Regions from separate parts of the Homo sapiens genome. Here region 1 is linked to region 2. Evidence: promoter capture Hi-C in 16 types of primary human blood cells and fetal thymus (Javierre and others, 2016). All regions are on one chromosome and are shown on one strand. The core of a region is centred on a gene start or on the middle of the fragment in contact, and the rest is flanking DNA. Distances in the headings are between cores, read along the strand shown. Region 1 holds the start of HSPB2 (heat shock protein family B (small) member 2). Region 2 overlaps TTC12 (tetratricopeptide repeat domain 12).

Evidence for each region. Contacts are between HindIII fragments. The CHiCAGO score rates a contact against its expected background, and 5 or more counts as called.
Region 1: a contact is called between the fragment with the promoter of HSPB2 here and a fragment that was not itself captured in region 2, in 2 of 17 cell types (monocytes and neutrophils). The highest score is 5.7, in monocytes.

What each region holds. Positions count from the first base shown.
Region 1 is chr11:111,911,484-111,916,616 of GRCh38, forward strand. HSPB2 (heat shock protein family B (small) member 2) reads left to right here and starts at 1,251. Exons shown (of 2, transcript NM_001541.4): 1 at 1,251-1,440; 2 at 1,958-2,610. The coding sequence starts at 1,347. The coding sequence ends at 2,412. CRYAB (crystallin alpha B) reads right to left here and starts at 287. Exons shown (of 3, transcript NM_001289808.2): 1 at 41-287. The coding sequence starts at 241. It overlaps HSPB2-C11orf52 (HSPB2-C11orf52 readthrough (NMD candidate)), which reads left to right and starts at 1,253. Exons shown (of 5, transcript NR_037651.1): 1 at 1,253-1,440. RefSeq lists an enhancer at 2,002-2,655. The HindIII fragment of the contact is 6,880 bases long and covers 330-5,133 here.
Region 2 is chr11:113,324,926-113,329,987 of GRCh38, forward strand. It overlaps TTC12 (tetratricopeptide repeat domain 12), which reads left to right. Exons shown (of 22, transcript NM_017868.4): 6 at 599-720; 7 at 4,995-5,054. Among named protein-coding and RNA genes, the nearest start is that of TTC12, 13 kb to the left of the region's middle. The HindIII fragment of the contact is 2,038 bases long and covers 336-2,373 here.

The DNA.
Region 1 (5,133 bases), core at 1-2,500, 1.4 Mb before region 2:
CCAGTAAGGACTCTCCCGTCCTAGCTGTGGGGAGACTCACCTCTGAGAGTCCAGTGTCAAACCAGCTGGGTGCCCGCAGGAAGGAGGGTGGCCGAAGGTAGAAGGGACTCAGGGAAGTAGACGTCGGGAAAAGATCAGACTCCAACAGGTGCTCTCCGAAGAACTGGTCAAAGAGGCGGCTGGGGGAGTGGAAAGGAAAGAAGGGGCGGCGGATCCAGGGGTGGTGGATGGCGATGTCCATGGTGGCTAGGTGAGTGTGAGGGGTCAGCTGGCTGGTCAGCTCCTTCAGCTGCAGCTACAGCCAGCCCCTTATATATGCAGTCTTGTGAAGCTTCTGGAATGGTGATGTCAGGGGTTTTATTATCCTAGCTCACCAGCAGTTCATGGAGACTTGTGATCCGGGATTTGGCAATGTGACACATACCCAGTACTCACTGAGCTAAGAAAAGAGAGACACAAACACGTCTGAGCCGGCCAGTGACTTGTCATGGTCTTGTTTCACTAGCTTTCTGTCCACACCCAATGGCACCCACCCCCACCCCTGTTCTCTGAAGCTGGTACAGAGTCAGGAATCCCAAGCAGGCACGCGGGGTGGGGGGAGGATGGGAGCCGGCGTAGTGTGCCCCTCCTCCTCCTTTCCAGTCCTGAATGCCAGGGGAATCAGGCCAGCAACTATCTTGGGCCTGGGCAGGGACTGGAATCTTCCTAGGCTGAGCCCCAGGGACATTAACTCTTTGTGAGTCCTTGGAAGAGAGCAGTGATGGTCAACATGTCAGCACCAGCCATCTGCCTCGTGCCCTGGGTTGACCTGGGTTTAGGAGAGGATCCCACATCTGGGCAGAAAGACCCCACCCCCTGAAAAAAGAGCAAACAGATTTCTTGCATCTTTCGTTCTATGTGGCTCTCAGAACATTAAATCCAGGAGTGCTTTAGGAATTGGGTGCACAGTGCCTGCCACCGAAGAGGAGAAAATGAGGTGTGGAAACGTGCAAACCGTTTGTGAGGGTCTCAGCGAGGCCTCTTCATGCCCCAGGCACCACCAGCTCCCCCTCCCCAGCTCGTTCCCAGCCAGGACCCTCAGCTGTCCTCTCAGGCCCCCTGCGACAGCTGAAGAGTGTGCGGGGGAGGGGACTAGGGGTCCGGGCGGCGCTGGTCACACCCTCGTTGCTCTCACTCAGGGCCCCCACTCCCAGCCCCTCCCCCCCCAAGAGGCTCGGCACTATTTTGGGTGGTGTCGACCCCGCCCCCACCTCCTATCGAGCCCTGGCTCTCCGGGCAGCTGGAGGGGTCGCGCTGCGCCTGTTGGGGCTGCACCTCGGACCAGGGCTTCTGCTGCATCTGCAGCCATGTCGGGCCGCTCAGTGCCACATGCCCACCCGGCCACCGCCGAGTACGAATTTGCCAACCCGAGCCGCCTGGGTGAGCAGCGCTTCGGAGAAGGTATGGCACAGACACCACCCCCTTGCCCCCCACCCCCACCCCCTGAAATTCTGGGCTGACCTCCCAACGTTGCTGGCCTCCACCCCACTCTGGGCTTAACTGATCTCCTGGGACCAGCCACCCCCCACCCCAGACTACCCCTCATCCCCTCCAAGCAGAGATCTTTCCCATTCCTGCTGACCTCAAGACACACTTGGTGCTTGCAGTGCTGATACCTGCTCTTTGCCGGCCTGGGTGTGCCTCCTTGTCCCCCTTCTATCCACCCAGGCCGTTTGGTGCCTCCTCCTCCTCCCCCTCCTCCTCCTTCTCCTCCTCCTCCTCCCTTTCCTTTCCGTTCTCTTTCCCCTCTTCCGAGCTGCCTTCTCCTCCTAGCTACAGTGTGGCCTCCCTCCCGTTCCCTACTCCTCCTGACTCCCCTCTTGCTCTTCCCAATCCCTCCTCTCCAGATTTCCCATTTCGCCCCTGTGCCAGCCTCATCCTCCCTCATCCTGCCTCTTGCCTTCTCTCTGCCCTTTAGGCCTCCTGCCAGAAGAGATCCTGACCCCCACACTCTACCATGGCTACTATGTCCGGCCTCGGGCCGCCCCAGCTGGGGAGGGCAGCAGGGCAGGGGCCTCCGAGCTTAGGCTCAGTGAGGGCAAGTTCCAGGCATTTCTGGATGTGAGCCACTTTACCCCAGACGAGGTGACTGTGAGGACTGTGGATAACCTGCTGGAGGTGTCTGCCCGGCACCCCCAGCGCCTGGACCGCCACGGCTTCGTGTCCCGAGAGTTCTGCCGCACCTATGTCCTGCCTGCTGATGTCGACCCCTGGCGAGTCCGAGCTGCTCTCTCCCATGATGGCATCTTAAACCTGGAAGCACCTCGGGGTGGCCGACATTTGGACACAGAGGTCAATGAGGTCTACATCTCCCTGCTCCCTGCGCCTCCTGATCCAGAGGAAGAGGAGGAGGCAGCCATAGTTGAGCCCTGATTGCCACAGACCCAGCACCCAGCAAATCCCTCTCTACCTCCCAAGGTGATATGGGCAGCTGCCCACCACTCCAGAGGTAGCAGCATCCTTGGGGGAAGGGAAAGGTGCATGGTCCACAATGTATGGTTTGGTCCCATGGGACATGTCATAGCCTTGGTTTAGTTTTGGGTGGAGCTGAATAAACCCAAATCTCAGGGCCTTGTTTGTACTGCTCCCTATTCTGTGGCCGGGAAGCTGGGATGGGGAGGGAGGGAGGAGGTCACAGCCAGCTAGACAAAAAGCTCCTCAGTTTGATGTGCCCAACGTCATAGGACCCTGAGCTCGCACTTGGATGCTGAGATCACACCCGGAAGCTGACTCTGGCTCCAGATCAAATTCCTAGCCATAATTTTCTCACAATGCAACAAAAGAGAGAGTGATCCTGGGAGGGAAAAGGGATATGCCATCCAAACAGCCCAGAGGGCACTGTCTGAGCTGGTGATTAGAGACACAAAAACAAGGGTCTCCAGACTGTCTGGCCCTTTTTGGGTAGGGGCTGGGAAAATGGTTTTTGGCTGGTGAGAGTTGCCTAAAGTCCTGGAGTGAATACTTTGTTTTCATGTACTAAGGTCTGTCCACTTAAATGGTCACTGATTTTGAGAGCCTGAGTATGCATACACAGGGCACAGACACAAAGCCTCTCCAATTATCACGGAACCCCATTACCTTCCCATCCTCTGGGGGTACGGTGTATTCAGGAAAGCCTGAGGTCTGTCCCCTCAGTTATTCTCTGCAATCAAGAGAACATCCAGCTACATGATTTGGGGGAAGTGTCCAAAAGACCTTCCTGCCTCCAAATACATATTTCATTAGGCTGTGGTAGATACCTACAATTCTTCCATTAAAGCAGTTGTTTCTTGGCTGGGTGCAGCAGCTCACACCTGTAATCCCAGTACTTTGGGAGGCCGAGGCAGGAGGATCACTTGAGCCCAAGAGTAAGAGACCAGCCTGGGCAATAGAGTGCAACCTTGTCTCTACAAAAAAATAAAAATTAGCCAGGCATGGTGGTGCATGCCTGTAGTCCCAGCTACTTGGGAGGCTGAGGTGGGAGGATGAGCTAGGGAGGTTGAAGCTGCAGTGAGCTGAGATTGCGCCACTGCACTCCAGCCTGGGTGACAGAGTGAGACCCTGCCTCAAAAAAATTAAATTGAATTGAATTAAATTAAGTGGTTGTTTCTTAACTTTTGGGAGTTATAGACCCTTCTGAAAATCTGACAAAAGCTATAGCTGCTCTTACCAGAAAAATACATATGCTCCCAAATTTGGCAATACAATTTGAATAGGTTCCCACAACTCTTAAGACCCATTCACATACCCCCCTTAGGGATCTGTGGACCTCCAGGATAACAGAACTCACTTGAGGAATTCGACTTTTGGTTAAAAGATTGCTGTCTATTAAAAATGAAAGCATGCCCCAGAGAAATAACATTTGACATATTTAACTGTTCATTCATTCATTCAGTAAATATTTATCAAACCTCATGTAATACACCTTGGGGGATATACATTGTAAATATAAATTATAAAAACTATTAGCTTTTATTGTCAACTTTCCAGAATCTAGTTGAGAAGAAAAATAATAAGAAAAGGATTCTACTTAGACTTCAACCAAAATAGCTTCACATTGATATGTTTTGTAACTGAGCTTTATTTAAAGGAAAGGGTTTCCTAGCTATAAGAAATTTGAAAACTTCTGATTTAGTCCAAATCCCCTCTCCATTCAAATGCTTTTAAAGTTATTAATCAACTTATTCGGGGACATTCTGAATAACAGACAACTTAGAACTTCTCACGGTAGTCGTTTCCATGTTCTTTCTTTTCTTTTTTAGACAGGGTCTTGTTCTGTTGCTCAGGATGGAGTGCAGTGGCATGATCATGGCTCACTGCAGCCTCAACCTCCCTTGCTCAAGCAATCCTCCTGCCTCAGCCTCCTGAGTAGCTGGGACTACAGGTGTGTGCCACCACGCCTGGCTAATTTTTTACTTTTTCTGGAGATGAGGTCTCGCCTTGTTGTCCAGGCTGGTCTTGAACTCCTGGACTCAAGCAATCCTCTATCCTTGGTCTGCCACAGTACTGGGATTACAGGTGTGAGCCTCTGTACCTGGCCTTCCATTTTCTTTTTGGTCTTAACTGACTTAACCGTTATAAATTCCTCCTTTTGTTGAATCAAAATCTGCATTTCAGTAACTTCTCTGGAAAACAAACACAATGGTTTTTTCACTGAAAATCCTTCTGATATTTAAAGATAACCATCCTGTCTTCCTGAGGCTTCCCTTTCCCAGCTAAACATGCCTAGTTCTTTTTTTTTTTTTTAAGACAAAGTCTCTCTCTGTCACCGAGGCTGGGTGTACAGTGGTGTCATCTCCCCTCACTGCAACCTCCTCCTCCTGGGCTCAAGCAATCCTCCCACCTCAACCTCCTGAGTAACTGAGGCTACAGGCATGCGCCACAACACCTGGCTAATTTTTTGTAGAGACTGGGTTTCGCCATGTTGTCCAGGCTAGTCTTGAACTTCTGGCCTCAAGCAATCTGCCCACCTCGGCCTCCCAACACATTGGGGTTACAGGCGTGAGCCACCACACCCAGCCATGCCTTGTTCTTTCAACCATATCATACAGCACTTTCCACATCACATATTACCCAGATAACTTTATTTTGAACATACTGCCTTTTGACAACGTA
Region 2 (5,062 bases), core at 105-2,604:
ACTTAGCAGAGCAAAGTGAATTGTACTAAACAATGCTCAGGAAGTAGTGGGGGGTGAGAGTGAGCTGCCACTGGCTAGCCTAAGGCATAGATGAAGAAGTGGAAAAGAAAAATAAAACAGCTGTGAGATAGGAGAGGAGACATCAAGGAAAAGGAAGGGATGGGATTGTGTATGTTGCAGGGAGATACATATGATAGAAGAATGTTTTCACTTTTATTTTATACCACCCAGGGCTGTGTGTGCTGCAGGTCTGAATGATTCCATATTTGTTGGGAAAATTAATTATTTGACCCTCTTTATGAGACACCGAATGCACAGATTTGGTCTCTGTGGCAAGCTTAGTATGGTTCTCAGCCTCAATGCAGAAACATTTACTTTTTCTGAGAATCTACTTAGAAGACATGGGTGGATTTGGAGGAAAAAAAATACTTGAAGAAGCTGGTCCTGAAGTATCTGCAGAAAAAAACAAGTGTCAAGTCCCTTTAGGATCGATAGAAGTGAAGACCTTCGAAATAGAATTGGAAAATCGGGGGAATAAAGTCTGAGAGATTTTCTGATGTGTGGTGAGAGCTCACCTGTGTAACTTATATTCCCATAGCCCTAAAAGAAAAAGGGAATGAAGCATTTGCTGAAGGCAATTATGAAACAGCTATCCTGCGCTACAGTGAGGGTTTGGAGAAGCTGAAGGACATGAAAGTGCTGTACACCAACCGAGCCCAGGTCAGTGAGGCAGGGATGTATCCATGGGGCTTTCTCAGGGAATAGTTGCCACTAAACTTGGGAAAACAAAGATGAGGCTAGATGTTGGGCTGGGAAATGTTTATAAGAACTGGCTCTTGTTTTAAGTGTGGGAGGAGCTGACTTATACACAGCATTTACCAGTTTCCATGATGCAAATATTCTCACCATGATCTAATTTGGAATCACTGCAGGAGGACTTGGGAAGAGCTGTCCATTATCAGCTCTCTCCATAGTATAAGTCAGCTCCATCATATCACTGATGGTGACCATGCACTTGTCCCTGTGGATAAAGGAGAAAACTAGTGGAATGAAATGACCTATGGGACCTTAGAATTCTGCTACCAACATATTTCTTCAGCCTCCTTTTTTGGTACTAGTCTTAACTCCTAGCGGATGCCCACCTGTTAGTTTCTCATTCATTGTATCAGTCTCTCTTTAAGATTCTGCGACAGGGATAAAGTGGATAGCCAATGGTCCTGGAGCCAATTTCTTGGAAATTTTGGGTTTCTGAAGGTTTTTATGCATTAGTATATGTCACAAATGAGCTCAATTTCCTGGAACACCAGGTAAAAACCACCCAGATGTTTATTTACTACTTAATGAAGGGATAGGCTGATAGCTCTCAACTGAAACAAAACCATCACCTGTGACCTTATCTTTGAAAAGTAGTTTAGTTTTTGTGTGGTAGAGTTCTCTGCTGGACAGGCCTGAAAAATTGGCAGATTCATGGACATGATTACCCCATGGTCAGAATATGTCAGCAGGACCTGTGTGAGGTGGACTTGATGCCCTGTCATTTGCAAGAGGGAGAGGCTCAGCAGAGTCCTCATCAGCTCTAATTTCCCTAACTCGAGTTTAAGAATGTCTGGCTCTGGGATGTTGAGGAAGAGGACTGGAAGCAAGAAACAGGACATTCGGAAGCCGAAACATATGGGGAGTGACAGTGACTTAATGATAAATAAATCCAAGCAGTATAATCTCACTAGTTTAGCAATTTGGATATGTTAGACTAGAGTTGAAGTGTCATTTAAACTATCCCAATTTTGGAGAAAACTTGTTATAAGGAAGTGAATCGGTAAAAAAGATGGCCAGAGGTTGATTTAGCAGTACATTGCATTACCCGAACAAGATTATAAACTTTTTGAGGGCAAAAACTGCCATATACTTTTTCCCCTAATGCTTTATTTATAGCAGATGTTCAATAAATCCTTTTTTAGTTACATAACGTTAAAAGCACAATAAGTCCAATTAAGGGAGTTAAGTTTCTGTTGACAATTCAGAGGCATCACTTAAATGCAAGCAATTAATAGAATAATTATAGTTCCTTCTTATTTATTACCAAATTTGGTCTCTAAAAACATCTGCCTACTGATGCTTATTCAGTTGTGTTACTCTGAAATTATTTGAAAGCAACAAAATTGAATTGCTTTAAAAAAGTTATATAATTTCAGACATATCTAATTCAGACTGTCTATACTCTGATTCATCTAAATTATATTTTCACTGCACTCATTTTTAAGCAGCACTTTGATTAGTTCTGAAGAATCACATTAAGAATGAATGTGGATAAATATAAGGAAATGTAATGAAAAGGTTTGAGGGAGTGATTCCTCTCAGCTTTCCCAAGGAGAAAGCTTATGCAGAGACAAAATAATGGACAATGTGCTCCCTGGTGTTACAAACCGTTTGAACCATTGACTATTTTTAAAATGCTTCCCCTGTATGCATGCAGTGTCAGAAAACACTTAATAAGGACCCTGTAAATTGAGTGTTGCTTGCTAGAGAGAAAACCTAACCTTTCATTGCTTTGTTTTTCCCCTGGAGTTAATGTTATGATCAATAGATTGCCGGTATAATTTAGATAAATCTGGAGTTTAATTGCTGTTTGGAAAAAGTAGTTCCTTTTTAAAATGTGCAAAAGCAAAAGAGATTGAGGAAGTTATAGGGTGTTTAATCCAAGCCTTAAGAGAGAAAGAAAAAAAAAAGTAAAAGGCTGTGTAGAGAAATTGTTGGAACCCATAAAGACTTCTTCAGAGTCTGCATGTATCCTAAATAATAGTGCCATGAAATCATGGCCACAGCTGTCTAGAATGATGCCAGCTTCCTCTTCACATCCTCTAATTTTCAAATGAAACCTGAGACCCTGGAGAAAAGGATGATGCTTTACAGAACAGATAGCTCAAAGAGTCGTCTTCTCTAATTAGTACAGAACATGAGTTAATGAAAGCACCACTCGCAGCTTCCTTGCTATGGGAGCCAAGAGCGGCATGATTTCAATTCATTTGCTGGCTGTTGCCTACTCCCTCCTCACTTGGGTTGGATACTTGGATTCCCTGTGAGTTGCAACATTGACCCCACAATTGGCTTGTCCATGTAAGTATCTCATGAGGTTCGTTGTTAAGATTGTGTTGCAGTGCCCTGGTACAGTTTTGATCATGGACAATCCTATGTGTAGTACTGGCTTTATTATTGGTTGCTGATGGAACCCTGGAAAAGCCACCACTCCTGGTGCTTGGCTATCCTTTCGTACAAATGGGATGATCGATGCTGCCTCTCAGGGAGCTTTCCAGAAGAAGAGTGCTTCAGAGTTACTTAGTGCAATTTGATAAGACTTTATTGACCACTTACTGTGTCCAGTAATTAATAGAGAGGTTATAGTAGCCATTGTGCTTGTTTATAGTCTTTCATTTGTTTATATTCCTCTAGTCCTTAGAAACATTGAACTAAGTTCTCAATCAGTTCAGTTTGAATGGATCACGGAATTCTGAGTCAATTCTTGATTTTCAAGATTTTCCCCAATTCTAGGGGATTCTAAAAGAGTGCCCCAGGCATTTGATACTAAGGCTTCATGGTGATGCTCTGACTCTCATATGTCACTCTACTTCTTTCATTTTTTTTTTCTGCTGTGCTCGGGAGGACAGAAGCAGAGCTTTATTATCTTTTGATAACAGCGTTATTGAGATATAATTCACATACCATACAGTTCACCCTTTTATAGTACACAATTTAATGGAATTTTAGTATAATCACAGAGTTGTGCAACCATCACAATCAATTTTTGAACATTTCATCATCATCCCCCAAAAAAGCTCCATCTTCAACTGTCAACTCCCCCAATCCTCCCATTACTACTCCCAGCCCAAGATAATCACCAATCTACTTTTTGTCTCTATACCTTTGTCTGTTCTGGACATTTTATATAAATGAAATCATACATTTGTCCTTTTATGACTGGCTTCTTTCATTTATCGTAATGCTTTTAAGATTCATCCATGTTATAGTATGTATCAACTCCTCTTCATTTCTTTTTATTGCTGAATAATTTTCCATTGTGTGGATATACCATATTTTATGTATCCCTTCATCACTGATGGACATTTGGATTGTTGCCTTTTGACTATCATGAATAATTCTGCTATGAACATTCATGTGTAAGCATTTGTATGGATGTATATTTATATTCTTCTTTGGTATATACCTAGGAGTAAAATTACTGGGTCATATGGTAACATATTTAACCTTCTGAAGAACTTCCAGGCTATCTTCCAGATGGGCTGTGCCATTTTAATGCCCACCAGCAGTGTATGAGAGCTCTAATTATCTGTCTTTTTTATCCCCTTTATCATTTGGTGTTTTTCTGGAACATTCACAGCAGGGTAGACTCCAGAATCCAGCTCTTCCTTCTTGGATGTGGCTAGTGAGCTGGGTATTTTCTCTGTCCCTCTAGATCCTTCCCTGCTTTGTGCCCTGGAGGGCTGACCTGTGTGGACTGGCTCCTTGGCTTCCTAGCCCTCTAGCTTCCATTTGCATTCAGCCAATAAAATGAGAAGGAAGGAGGAAAAGTGAGATTGGGGTATTTATTCTCCTGGCCTTCGGCTCTGGTGAAGGCCTCAGCTCATGTCAGGCAGTTCTTTTCGCAGAGCTGTCCTCCCACATTTTGTTCATTGCTCCCTCCTTCTGCCCCTTCCATTACAGCAGTGGTAATGGCTGTCCACTGTTGCTAGCCCTGCGATTCTGTAGCATCCCTTGTCAGGTTCCCTAAGCCCTGCCTTCACCGTGGAAGAGGTCCCTGTATTCAACTCTCCTCAGTTGCCCAGTGCAAGTGTGCCATCTGTTTCCTGGCAGGACCATGACTGATCCAGGTAGGGGATAGTTCTCGCTGACATTCTACTGTTCGAATGTTCTTTCTGTGTGAACTGAAAACTGCCTGATGCAGAATTGTGTGTGAATATCAGCTGTTGGTTTCATTACAGGCTTATATGAAACTTGAGGACTATGAGAAGGCACTGGTGGATTGTGAGTGGGCTCTCAAGGTAAGAGG